Linked DNA regions of Homo sapiens: regions 1, 2 and 3 are each linked to region 4. The links are contacts of gene promoters, found by promoter capture Hi-C in blood cells and fetal thymus (Javierre and others, 2016). All regions are on one chromosome and are shown on one strand. The core of a region is centred on a gene start or on the middle of the fragment in contact, and the rest is flanking DNA. Distances in the headings are between cores, read along the strand shown.

Region 1 (2,936 bases), core at 76-2,575, 180 kb before region 4:
GCGCGGCGGCCGTGGTTGCGGCGCGGGAAGTTTGGATCCTGGTTCCGTCCGCTAGGAGTCTGCGTGCGAGGTGAGTACCGCGCGCGTAACTACGGGTCGGTCCGCATTGATCTAGCCCTGCTCTGGCGGCCCGGCCCGGAGCTGGAGGCCGCTCGGGTTCTTCCGTTTCCTGCACTGGTTCGCCTCGGCCCGCTGAGTCCTCTAGTCTGGCCAACATCCTGGGAGGACAGCAGATACATAAATACGTTCCCAAATGGGGAAACAGAGGCCCGGGGCGGGGGCGAACTCTGCCAAGGTCTCCCGGGGCGTCGGAGGCCGAGCATGGGCTAGGACCTGGCATGTTGTTGCCCATATACTCCAGTGCGTAACATGATGCCCTGCACAGAGTAATCCCAGCCCAGACCTCTGGCACTACTACCTCCGTGTCCCTCCTGAGGAACAACGAAAACACTTTGTACTTTTTCTGTGGCCTTCCATAATCACGAGCTGGGCTACTCTTGTTTTTGAGTGTCTACTGTGTGCCATGTTCCTGGCACCCTTGATCTTACAACTGTAGCTTTACGATATCCCAGCAAAGCGAAGTGCTTAAGAATACTGCATCAGATTGCTTGGGTTCGAATTCTGGCTCCTTCACATTTAGCTCTGTGTCTACTGCACGTTACTGAAACACTAAGTGTCTTGGTTTTCGTCTGTCATATGGGGGAAATGGTCTCTTCTACTTCCTGGCGTTTTTGTTAGGATTAAACGACTTAATATATGCAATAATAAATGCTTCGAAGGCTACCTGTTACATAGTACACAGTAAGGGTTCTGTTATCATTACCCAGAGAAGCGGATGAAATTGTCCCCATTTTAGACATGGAGAATCTGAAGTACAAAGAGGTTGTCTCCGTACAGAAAGAGCATTTGGTGATTAAGTGCTAGAGATACAGGATTTGAACTAAGCGCCTGATTTTAAAGTATGTCCCACAACATTAGGCTTTCTCCTATAGCCCTCACCTGTCCTTAGGTCACACAGAACTTTAGGTACCTCATGGCGTGAGATGGAGCAGGTGACTGACAGCTCCTTGTGCCACCCATGCAGATAAATAACACTGGTGTGTCACTGTCAAGATTAAGGGACAGGAATTCGAGAGACTGCATGAGAGATCAGAAGATGAAGAAGCGGGTAGGCAAAAGTATTCTGTTTGGGGAATAGTAAATAGAATTAATTAAATCAACATTTTGTTAGCTGGGCTGCTTATACTGTCAGACAGTAGCTTATAATCTACTGGGAAGAAATGAAATTTCTGGGTCCTGTGTCACTTTCAATGCCACTCACCATGACAGGTACCTTATAAGTATAGTTTACAGTCCTATCAGTAACCTGGAGAAGTAGTTATTTCCTTCGTTTTACTGAGGAAACCAAGAGTTAAAAAATCAGGAAAAGTGTTAGATGTGCAGTAGAACATCATCATGCTGGGAAGTTCTACACATCCGCTTCAGGACAGGTGGTATTACCTATGAGCAGGAAGGGAAGGGAAAAAGGTAAGGGGAATGAGTGATAGTTTATTGTTTTGATTTTTAAATTTTTATCTGTTTTTTCCTTTTTCATAGTCATTCCTGGAATGAGTGAGTTTGTTTTTGTTTTTGTTTTTGGGGGATGGAGTCTCGCTCTGTCGCCCAGGCTGGAGTGCAGTGGCGCGATCTTGGCTCACTGCAAGCTCCGCCTCCCGGGTTCATGCCATTCTCCTGCCTCAGCCTCCCAAATAGCTGGGACTACAGGCACCCACCACCACGCCCAGCTAATTTTTTGTATTTTTAGTAGAGACGGGGTTTCACTGTGTTAGCCAGGATGGTCTCGATCTCCTGACCTCGTGATCCGCCTGCCTCCGCCTCCCAAGGTGCTGGGATTACAGGCGAGCCACCGCGCCCGGCCATGAGTGAGATTTTAAATATATCTGAAATGAGGCCAGGCACAGTGGCTCACACCCATAATCCCAGCACTTTGGGAGGATGAGGCGGGCGAATCACCTGAGGCCAGGAGTTCGAGACTTGCCTCACCAACATGGCGAAACTCCCTCTCTATAGTAAATACAAAATTATCTGGGCGTGGTGGTGTGCGCCTGTGGTTCTAGCTACTGGGGAGGCTGAGGCACGAGAATCGCTTGAACCCAGGAGGCTGCAGTTAGTCAAGATTGCACCACTGCACTCCAGCCTGGGTGACAGAGTGAGAGTCCGTCAGTCAATCTACCTGAAATGTTTTATGCCTTTAAAAGAGAGAGAATAGGGCCGAGTTTAACTTTTTAAATTTGGTTGGTGGGTACATGGGTGTAATTCTATTTTCTGTATCTTTATGTAAGAAATATTAAAAATTAAAAGATATACATATATATTTTAATTTACATATATATGTGTTTTTTTCTAAGAGAAAAATGGATAGAATAAAGAGGTCCAAGATAATCGTAGAATAATCCTAGGACTTCAGTGCTGAAAGCCCCTAAGGGTCTCCACTACCTGTAGGATAAAATCTAAACTCCTTGGCATGATACCAGAGGCTTTTGAGCATTCTGTATCGCTAACACATACTATTCTACCTCAGCCTTTGTACCACTAGTTCATAGACTACTCTTCTTCACAACCTCAGTCCTGTCTGTAAAGTTCCACTTGTCCTTCAATATCCAATTCAGTGTTCTTTGAAAAGCTTCTCTATCATTTGCCTGTTTTTCCTTAATCTGGGAAGCCATAGTCTTTTAAGAAAAGACTTGATTGTCAGACTTATCTCGTTGCATTGTAATTATTTGTTGACATGTCTATTTTCTGCTAGTCTATAAGCTCCTTGAAGGCAGTAATAATGTCTTTCCCATCTCTGTACTTCAGTGCCTACCATGATGCCTGGCACAGAGTAGTCACTGTAGATATTAGCTGAATGAAAAATACAAGTTGAAGACAGAGAG
Region 2 (3,101 bases), core at 304-2,803, 220 kb before region 4:
TACTTGCATTGTTCTTTTTGTTGCTCAAATCATCCTGTATTTGGTCAGAGAGAGCCTTTTCACATGAACCCCTGTGTCCTTTTAATCAGACTCCATAGTGATGATACCTTCCTTGTTCAGCTGCCCCAACCTTGGACTGGCCATTTGGCAGGAGCCCTAGTTTCTTTTAGCAGAGAATGACATACAGAGACCATGATCTAGGCAAGATATATACTTTTTTTTTTTTTTTTTTTTTTTGAGACAGGATCTCACTGTCTCCTTGGCTGGAGTGCATGGCAGTCACGACTTACAACAGCCTTGAACTCCTGGGCTCAAGGGATCCACTAGCTTCAGTCACCTGAGCAGCTGGGACCACAGGCACATACCACCATACCTGACACTCTCTCTCTGTCTCTCTCTATATATATTTGTTGTTGTTTGTTTGTTTGTTTTCGTAAAGACAGGGTCTTTTGTTTTGAGACAGATCTCACTCTGTTGCCCAGGCTGGAGTGCAGTGGCACGATCTCGGCTCATTGCAACCTCCGCCTCTCAGGTTCAAGTGATTCTCCTGCCTCAGCCTCCTGAGTAGCTGGGACTACAGGCACGTGCCACCACGCCCAGCTAATTTTTGTATTTTTAGTAGAGACAGGGTTTCACCATACTGGCCAGGCTGGTCTTGAACTCCTGACCTTGTGATCCACCTGCCTCCGTCTCCCAAAGTGCTGGGATTACAGGCGTGAGCCACCGTACCCGGCCAAGACAGGGTCTTTTTTTATTTTTCATTTTCTCAGCCTGAATATGTTTGTAGACAAGGTCTTGCTATGTTGCCCAGGTTCTACTCTTTTTAAACACAAAAATTACATAATTTTTCAGACAATCTGTTTTGCCATATTGAGAGGCCTTTGCATTAAGTCTGCTAATGCCCTGACAACCACCACATCACTTGGGATTTGGAGTCCCTTTGGGTTAGAGCAGGGTTTCTCAACTTCGGCACTATTGACATGTGGGCTGGATCATTTTGTTCTTTGGAGGCTGTTCTGACACTGCAGGTAGATGCCAGTAGCACCTCCCTAGTTGTGGCAACCAAAATGCCTCCAGACATTGCCCAATACCCCTGGGGGTGCCAAAATCATCCCCCGTTAAGAATCACTGGATGTCCTCTGGGATTCTACGGAAAACTTCCTGGAACAAACCAGAGAAAATCTGACTCCTGATGTCACATCCATGCCAGCTTCCTGCCTCTGTTTCCCCATTTGTCCAGTTGGGATCATGACTACAAGATAAAACAGCATATGGTGGGAAGCAATGGGACCTGCAAGGAGTCATCGTGGTACTCATGAGGAGCAGACATAAGGTCACAAGCAGCACTGCCCTGGAACTGCATGGCACTGTGCTGGCTTTGCCAAGGTGGTAGGGCATCCCACTGAACTGACTCAAGTCCCCAGGATTGCTCCAACTCTTGTATTCCCTCCAGGCCTCTTTTTAATGTTAGCGTTGTTTAAGATCTTTCATTTTACTGTCAAAAAGAGAAAGTCTCATTTAATTCATACCAGATGCTGAGTGAGTCGTCATGAATCAATACAACATTATCCAAAAACCACCAAAATGAATCATAAGGATAAACAGGATTTTTTTCTCCCTGCAAAACAGTGACTAAAATAGTGCCTTGCCCTTTTAGAAAAAAAAAAAAAAAAATCTGAGGTTAGGAGGAGGCCTAGGGCCCTGCTCATGTAATCCACGTGTCCGTGAGCATGGAATGGTTCAACTGCAGGTCCTAGGGAGACAGTGTATGAGGCCTGCAGCTAAGCCAGGCAGACACGGGCTGGAGAAGGTGTCCCAGAGTTAGGATTCAGGAATGGGGGTCCAGCAGCCCCCTGAAACTTATGCAATCCTCTGTTTCCATCCCAGTCTCAAAGCTGTCTGTGACTCAGAGAAGTTTTGTCACCCTCATTATGGATGAAGAGGCTCTTGGGAACTGTGGAGGGTCTTCTGGGAGGTGAGCATCCCAGAATTCTTCTGCTGCTGATAAAGCTAAGGCAGCCCATCAGCCTCATGAGCACTTATTTTCTCAGTCCTTCCTCTACTGTGATCCTGAGAATGCACTCTGAGTATGTAGGGGAGTCAGAAATGGTGTTTGTCCTCTCTGGGGCAGCAGGGAGGCTGGAGAGGGAAGGCTCTGGGCCCACCTAGGCACTCAGACTCTGACCCTTGAATGGAGGAAGCAAAAGCCAAGAAGAGGTTGGGGCTGACACATCTTTACAGTGTGGCCAGATGAGACTCTCAGTTGGTTCCAGCTTCTAGGTCCCCACGGCCTCCCTGTTTTCTGTCTTTTCCAGACCAGGCTCTTCAATTTCCCCTTCCATGTTGTGAGGGACTCCATAGCCTTCTTGTGAATTTCCCTTGGGGTCGGGGGTCAGTGTCTGTTTCTTGCCACCGCAGCACCAGGCTGGTTGTTTCTGTAAGAGGCTCTGAGAGCTGCGCCTCCCACATCCCTCACCTCCCAGACTTGTGCAGGAGTAGTCAGGAACATGCGGAGCTGGAACCACACTCGATGGCACCCACGAGGTCAAGTCAGAAGGGCTCCCTTCTGGTAAGGCAGAATCAGAGCCAAGGAGGCTGAGCGTTCCCTGCAATCACTGCCATCACTGATGAAGGAACTGACTCATCTGATGTGGGCCATTGAGGAATGTGGAGGTTGGACGAGTGACCACTAGGACCTTCAGCAATAGAGAAAATGGAACTGGCTGGGCACGGCGGCTCATACTTGTAATCCCAGAACTTTGGGAGGCTGAGGTGGGAGGATCACCTGAGGTCAGGAGTTCAAGACCAGCCTGGCCAACATGGTGAAACCTTGTCTCTACTAAAAATACAAAAATTGGCTGAGTGTGATGGCACGTGCCTGTAATCCCAGCTACTCCAGAGGCTGAACCAGGAGAATTGCTTGAACCTGGGAGACAGAGGTTGCAGTGAGCTGAGATTGCACCACTGCACTCCAGCCTGGGCAACAGAACAAGACTCCATCTCAAAAAAAAAAAAAGAAGGAACTGTTCCCAGAGATCCTCAGTGCCACTCCAGGTTTCAGCGAAGCTCTGCTGAGGGGCCGGGGTCATGGACCCCAGTGT
Region 3 (3,271 bases), core at 697-3,196, 200 kb before region 4:
AATATTTACATATTCGACAGTTGATAGGAATTGCATTTTGGTTTTTAGAAGGAGTGCTGAGGTGGAGCAGCCCCATAAAGAGGGACACCAGGATGAAAACACAAGAAGCCTCTACCAAGACAGCTGTCCTGGCCACAGAACACAGGCTGGAGGCAAAGCAGGTATTTTCCAGCGTAAGAAGAATGATCACAGGCACTAGGGCGTTGTCTCCATTAGTCTGTGTTTGTATAATGAAGGTTGTTTTTTTTAATGGAAGAGTGAACTGCTTACTGTAATCAGGGATACCTAATGCTAGGACTCATTTAAGGGAAGAAAAAGCCTTTTAGATGTTAAGACCAAGGTAATCATTTGACATTGCTAGCTTGAGTTAGATGTAGTAGATGTTTTGTATCTGAAGTATATTTTAGTATTTACTGTCAGCTAAGGCCAGACATGTCCAAGAAGCTATGCATTTGTGAACTTGTGGTGAGCCCAGGGCCCTTGAAGATACCTACTTCTCTAGAAGAAAATGAGTGTCTCTTACTGATTTGTCATGTTCAAGTAATGGACTTGGAACAGACATAATTATGATTTATTTTAATAGCTTTGTGGCCCTTTTGTACACAAGAAGGAAGGTAGATTAAGAAATCTCTTTTGGCCAGCCACAGTGGCTCACGCATGTAGCCCAGCACTTTGGGAGGCCGAAGTGGGTGAATGACTTGAGGTCAGGAGTTCAAGACTAGCCTGGCCAACATGGAGAAACCCAGTGTCTACTAAAAATACAAAAATTAGCTGAGCATGGTGGCGTGCACTTGTAATCCCAGCTACTCAGGAGGCTGAAGCAGCAGAATTGCTTGAACCCAGGAGGCAGAGGTTGCAGTGAGCCAAGATACACCACTGTACTCCAGCCTGGGCGACAGAGTGAGACTCTGTCTCAAAAATAAATACATTAATTAATTAATTTCTCTCTTTTGAGGGCAGGGTATGGTGGCTCAAGCCTGTGATACCAGCATTTTGGGAGGTGGGAAGATTGCTTGAGCCCAAGAGTTCAGGACCAGCCTGGGCGACAAAATGAGACTGGGTCTCTATTAAAAAATAATTAAACATTAGCTGGGCATGGTGTTGCATGTCTGTAGTCCCAGCTACTCAGGAGGCTGAGGTGGGAGGATGGCTTGAGCCCTGGAGGTCAAGACTGCAGTGAGCCATAATGGCATCACTGTACTCCAGCATGGGTAACAGAGCAAGGCCCTGCCAAAAAAAAAAAAGAAGAAATCTCTTTTGAGGCCCTTTAATGAGGGGGAGACCAACAGAAGGCTGCTAACATATTGCATAAGAACACAATTTCCAGGAAACGTTCTGTTATTTAAATCACTCTTAAGAATTAGGAAGTCCAGGAGCTCTGGGCTGAAATTGCAGATTAAACATGCACATCTAGATCCATTCCCCCAAAAACCTACTATAGTAAAGTGACTGTATATATAGTAAAAACTACAATAAGTCTACAACAATGAGAACAGAACAGATGACAGCAGGTCAGGCGTGGTGGCTCACGCCTATAATCCCTGCACTTTGGAAGGCCAAACCGGGTGGATCACTTGAGCCCAGGAGTTCAAACCGGCCTGGCCAACACGTTGAAACCTTGTCTCTACTAAAAATGCCAAAAAAAAAGTAGCCAGGCATGGTGGCACACACTTATAATCCCAGCTACTTGGAAGGCTGAGACAGGAAAATTGCTTGAACCTGGGAGGCAGAGGTTGCAATGATCCGAGATTGCACCACTGCACTCCAGGCTGGGCCACAGAGGGAGACTGTCTCAAAAACAAACAAACAAAAACAAAAAAAAAAGAAAAAGAAAAAAAGATTAGCCAAGCTTGGTGGCACATGCCTGTGGTCCCAGCTACTCGGGAGGCTAAGATGGGAGGATCACTTGAGCCTGGGAGACGGAGGTTGCCGTGAGCCAAGATGATGCCACTGCACGCCAGCCTGGCAGGCAGAACAAAACCCTGTCTCAAAAAAGAAAAACAAACAAACAAACAAACAAAAAGAGAGAGAGAGACAACAGCAGCAAGCTTTTGGAACCTAGAAAGCAGAAGAGTGGTGACTGTCTTAGCTGACCTAAGAAGGAACCATTCTTGGGCCAGTAGTGGGCAGGGTTCTCCAGAGAAACAATAGGAGGCAATAAGGGGTGTGCGTGTGTGTGTGTGTGTGCGCGTGTGTGTGTGCGAGCGCATATGTAGGAGAGACAGAAAGAAAAAGACAAAGACAGTGAGAGAGAAAAGGAATTGGCTCGCATGATTATTTGGCTGGTAAATCCAAAATCTGTAGTGTGGATGAAGAGGTATTTTTCAGCAGACCAAGTAAGTCAGCTGTAAAATACCTCTTGCTGGGGCAAAAGGTCAGTCTTTATTCAGGCCTCCAACTAACTGGATGAGACCACCCACACTATGGGGAATGTTATGAACTGAACACTTGTGTCCCCCCCAAATCACATTAAAGCCCTAACCCTCAGGGTGATGGTATTTGGAGATGGGGCCTTTGGGAGCAACAAGGGCATATGGGAGCCCTCATTATGGGATTAGTGGCTTTGTAAGAAGAGACACAAGAGATCTCTCTCTGCACCACGTGAGGAAGACACAGTGAGAAGGCAGCCATCTGCAAGCCAGCAAGAGGCTCCTCACCAGAAGGTAAACTGCCTAGCACCTTGACCTTGGACGTTCCAGCCCCCAGAACTGTGAGAAATGTTTCTGTTGTTTAACCAGCATGTGTATGGTATTTTATTATAGTAGGCTGAGCAGACCGAGACAGAGAGCAATTGACTTCACTCAAGTCTACTGATTTAAATGCGAATTTCTTTTTTATTTTGTTTTTGTAGAGACAGGGTCTTGCAGTGTTGCCCAGGTTGGTCTCAAAACCCGGGCCTCAAGTAATCCTCCCACCATGGCCTCCCAAAATGCTGGGATTACAGGCATGAACCACCAGATCCCACCTAAATGCTAATTTCATCCAAAAACACCCTCACAGAAACACCCAGAATAATGTTTGTCCAAATATCTGGGCACTTGGCCCAGTCAATTTGACACATATTAACCATCACAGTATCCTAAAAAGGCACAGAAACTGACAGAACCCAGGCATCTCTGGAATTGGGAGTGAAAGGAGGTCCAAAATAATGAGAACTGGGTGAAAGCAGTTTGAGATGCAGCTAGATCCTGAGATCCCCTCACCCACTCCATACTTATTAGCAACTGCCCCTCCCTTGTCTCCAAGAAGAGGCATTAGTACCTACAGATGG
Region 4 (2,897 bases), core at 179-2,678:
ACAACAGAAATGTATTTTCTCACAGTTCTGGAGGCTGGAAAGTCCATGATAAGGCATAAGCGGATTCAGTGTCGGGTGAGGGCCTGCCTGTGGTGCACAGATAGTGCCTTCTAGCTGTGTTCTCACGTGGTTGAAGGGGCCGACTCTCGGGGTCATTTGATACCGGCACTAATCCCATTCATGAGAGCTCTCCCTTCAAACTCTGTTCACCCCCAAAGGCCCATCTCCTAATACCATCATCACCTTGAGGGATTAGGATTTGAACATGAATTTGGGGGGTCACATTCAGATAATGTTATATATAACTTAAAAAGAACAAAAATGTGGAATTCATGGAGATGTTCATTGCAGTATGGATTACACTGAAAAACTGTAAACAACCTAGATGCCCAGTAAAAGGGAAACAGCCAAGAAAAGTCTGTGTCTTGTTCACTCGCTGGCAGGAAACATAGAGCAGGCACGGAAAGGAAAGGGACTCGAGGAATGCGCTGTACCGACAGGAGGCAGCACCCCTTTGCCCGAGGGGCGCAACGACAGAGACCTAAGGCTACCTGGGCCGGAGCCGGGTGAGGCCGCGGAGAACGCACCCCGCTACGCGTCTGCCGAGACGGAGGCGGGCGTTTCGACCACTGCCCGATCATGCGCTTACTCAAGTAGGATTCCGAAAAAATTCAGTCGCGCGTCCCTCCTGAGGTTCCGCAGCTGGCCAGGCCCGGCCCGGGCTGGTGCGGCTGCGCACTGCAGCCCAGCGGAGCGGGCCCGGGAGGAGCCGGGCGGGGACCGCGGCGGCCAGAGCTCCTGTCAGCTCCGCCGGGCACACGCAGGCCGGGGCGGGCGGCGCGGCTGTCCCCGCCCCGCACGCTGCTGGGCCCGGCAGCTTCAGAGGCTGGCGGACCCGCGCGGGGCCGGCGCAGCGGAGCGCGCCGGCGGCCCGGGGCCCAGCGGGAGCGCGGCAGCGGCGCGCGGAGCAGGGGGCTACGGGTGGGCGGGCGCCCGCCTTCGCCTGCGTCGCTGCCTGCACGCGGGCCGCCGTCCCCGGGCGTGTGAGAGCCGGCAGCTCGGCCGACTGGGCCCGGAGCGGCGCGGAGGCCGGGCGCTGACGGTAACGGGCCGGGTGCGCGCGCGGGAGGGCTCCGGCTGCCCCGACAGAGGCCGGGCTCGGGCGGCGGGAGTGCGAGCGCCACTGCGGCGTCAGAGGGGCCAGGAAGGGACAGGAGGCTGCCTGAGGCCCGTACCTGGCGCCTGTCTCTGCGGTCCCCGGGGCCGACGAAGTCGGAGCGGGTGGGGAGGGAGCCGGGCGGGCGGCCAGAGACCTGGCGGCAGGTGCCTGCCCTCTGTGATCCAACTCTCTCCCCAGCTCCACCCACATTGGCCTAGACCCAGTCTCTAAGGGCTGAAAATATTGCCCGGAAGCTCCCGAGCAGAATCAGATCGCGCTAAGTAGGGCACAACGCAGAGGCGACAAAGCTCCTCGGCCCCAGGGCCCGCGGAGCAGACTCCGGAGCGCGGTCCCGCCCACGCTCGGCTCCGCAGTTAGCGTCCTCCTTCCTCCTGAGCAGGCAAGCGGAGCCCGAGGGCGGTGGCGGCGGGGGGCACGGGTCCCCTGAAGTTGCCTCGCAGCTGAGCACTGGGCCCCGTCTCTCCCTTCCCAGGGGGCCTTCGGCGTCACTGCAGGCTTCCTAGGGGTCCCCTAAGTGCTCTGCAAACCGCGGCTGGAAGTTTCCCACTGCAGTGAACAGTAGAGAAACAGGGAGAACACACAGGGCTTGCTTTATGCTAGAAACACAAGCATCTTTCTTCTTTATTAGAAAGAAACTCATTCTGTGTTTCTGAGAAAGGATCGTGCCAGGCACTGTTTCTGGTGAGTGCCAGTTTGACCCGAAAGGGCACTGAGAAAGGCTTTCCTATCAGTCTCTTTGGGTTCTGGCTAAACTTTTAAATCAAACAAAATAGAGACTAGCTTATTCACCTGAAACTAGAAGCACATGGCCGAGGAGCCTGAACAGGCACCTCCTATCTAGGCAGGGAAGCTGTGTAATCAGGAGCTTGTGTGGTGCGCTCCAGTCGGAGCTGGGACTCTTATCCTGGGCCCGTTTTTCATAGCACCAGCCAAAGGAGAGCGTCCTCTCCACCCTAGCGGCAGAGCTGCTACCAGGACCAGGTGGGCCAGCCTCAGATGTGCTGCTTGTGCTACTTGGAGCCAGGCAAATGGGTGTTCCTTTGGAACAGCCCTCAGGAACTCACTGGGGTATTTGGTGGAAAGACTGCCACGGGCATTTTGCATGTTGGAGCTACAGATGGTGTCCTTCCTGCCAGGTGTGTGTGGAGGCCAGTATGAAGCTGAAAAAGCAGGTGACAGTGTGTGGGGCTGCCATCTTCTGTGTGGCAGTCTTCTCGCTCTACCTCATGCTGGACCGAGTGCAACACGATCCCACCCGACACCAGAATGGTGGGAACTTCCCCCGGGTGAGTCGTGCCTGGTTGCTAATTTCTTTGTATACAAGTCACCTGGGCTCAGGGTATGCACCTCCCACCCCGCCGCCTCCCCTCCCACCCCCCGCTGGAGGGTAATGTCAGTACAGGACAGGAGCCTTCCTTCCCAATAGTCAGGTTTTGTAGAAACCCTCAGCTAAAAACAGTGATGGCGAAAAGAAGGAAGGAAGAAAAAATGTCAATGGCAATGAGTATTGTCACTCTGTTCTCCTGAATTCTTTTCTTTCTTTTTTTTTTTTTTGAGACAGAGTCTCGCTCTGTCGCCCAGCCTTGAGTGCAGTGGCGCGATCTTGGCTCACTGCAACCTCCGCCTCCCAGGTTCAAGCAATTCTCCTGCCTCAGCCTCCCAAGTAGCTGGGACTACAGGAGCCTGCCACCATGCCCGACTAATTTTTGTATTTTTA

The links. Contacts are between HindIII fragments. The CHiCAGO score rates a contact against its expected background, and 5 or more counts as called.
Region 1: a fragment that was not itself captured here is called in contact with the fragment with the promoter of MAN2A2 in region 4 in 1 of 17 cell types (M0 macrophages); the score reaches 5.8 in M0 macrophages.
Region 2: a contact is called between a fragment that was not itself captured here and the fragment with the promoter of MAN2A2 in region 4, in 4 of 17 cell types (M0 macrophages, endothelial precursors, erythroblasts and 1 more). The highest score is 7.7, in M0 macrophages.
Region 3: a contact is called between a fragment that was not itself captured here and the fragment with the promoter of MAN2A2 in region 4, in 11 of 17 cell types (M0 macrophages, M1 macrophages, endothelial precursors and 8 more). The highest score is 16.6, in M0 macrophages.

The regions. Positions count from the first base shown.
Region 1 is chr15:90,717,371-90,720,306 of GRCh38, forward strand. BLM (BLM RecQ like helicase) reads left to right here. Exons shown (of 22, transcript NM_000057.4): 1 at 1-70. Among named protein-coding and RNA genes, the nearest start is that of BLM, 1.5 kb to the left of the region's middle. The HindIII fragment of the contact is 2,711 bases long and covers 1-2,681 here.
Region 2 is chr15:90,679,089-90,682,189 of GRCh38, forward strand. All of the region lies in intron 2 of CRTC3-AS1 (CRTC3 antisense RNA 1), which reads right to left. Among named protein-coding and RNA genes, the nearest start is that of LINC01585, 20 kb to the left of the region's middle. The HindIII fragment of the contact is 4,674 bases long and covers 1-3,101 here.
Region 3 is chr15:90,699,927-90,703,197 of GRCh38, forward strand. All of the region lies in intron 2 of CRTC3-AS1 (CRTC3 antisense RNA 1), which reads right to left. Among named protein-coding and RNA genes, the nearest start is that of CRTC3-AS1, 16 kb to the right of the region's middle. The HindIII fragment of the contact is 199 bases long and covers 1,848-2,046 here.
Region 4 is chr15:90,901,874-90,904,770 of GRCh38, forward strand. MAN2A2 (mannosidase alpha class 2A member 2) reads left to right here and starts at 1,429. Exons shown (of 23, transcript NM_006122.4): 1 at 1,429-1,559; 2 at 2,317-2,466. The coding sequence starts at 2,335. RefSeq lists enhancers at 470-519, 2,360-2,419 and silencers at 690-959, 980-1,409. The HindIII fragment of the contact is 23,300 bases long and covers 1-2,897 here.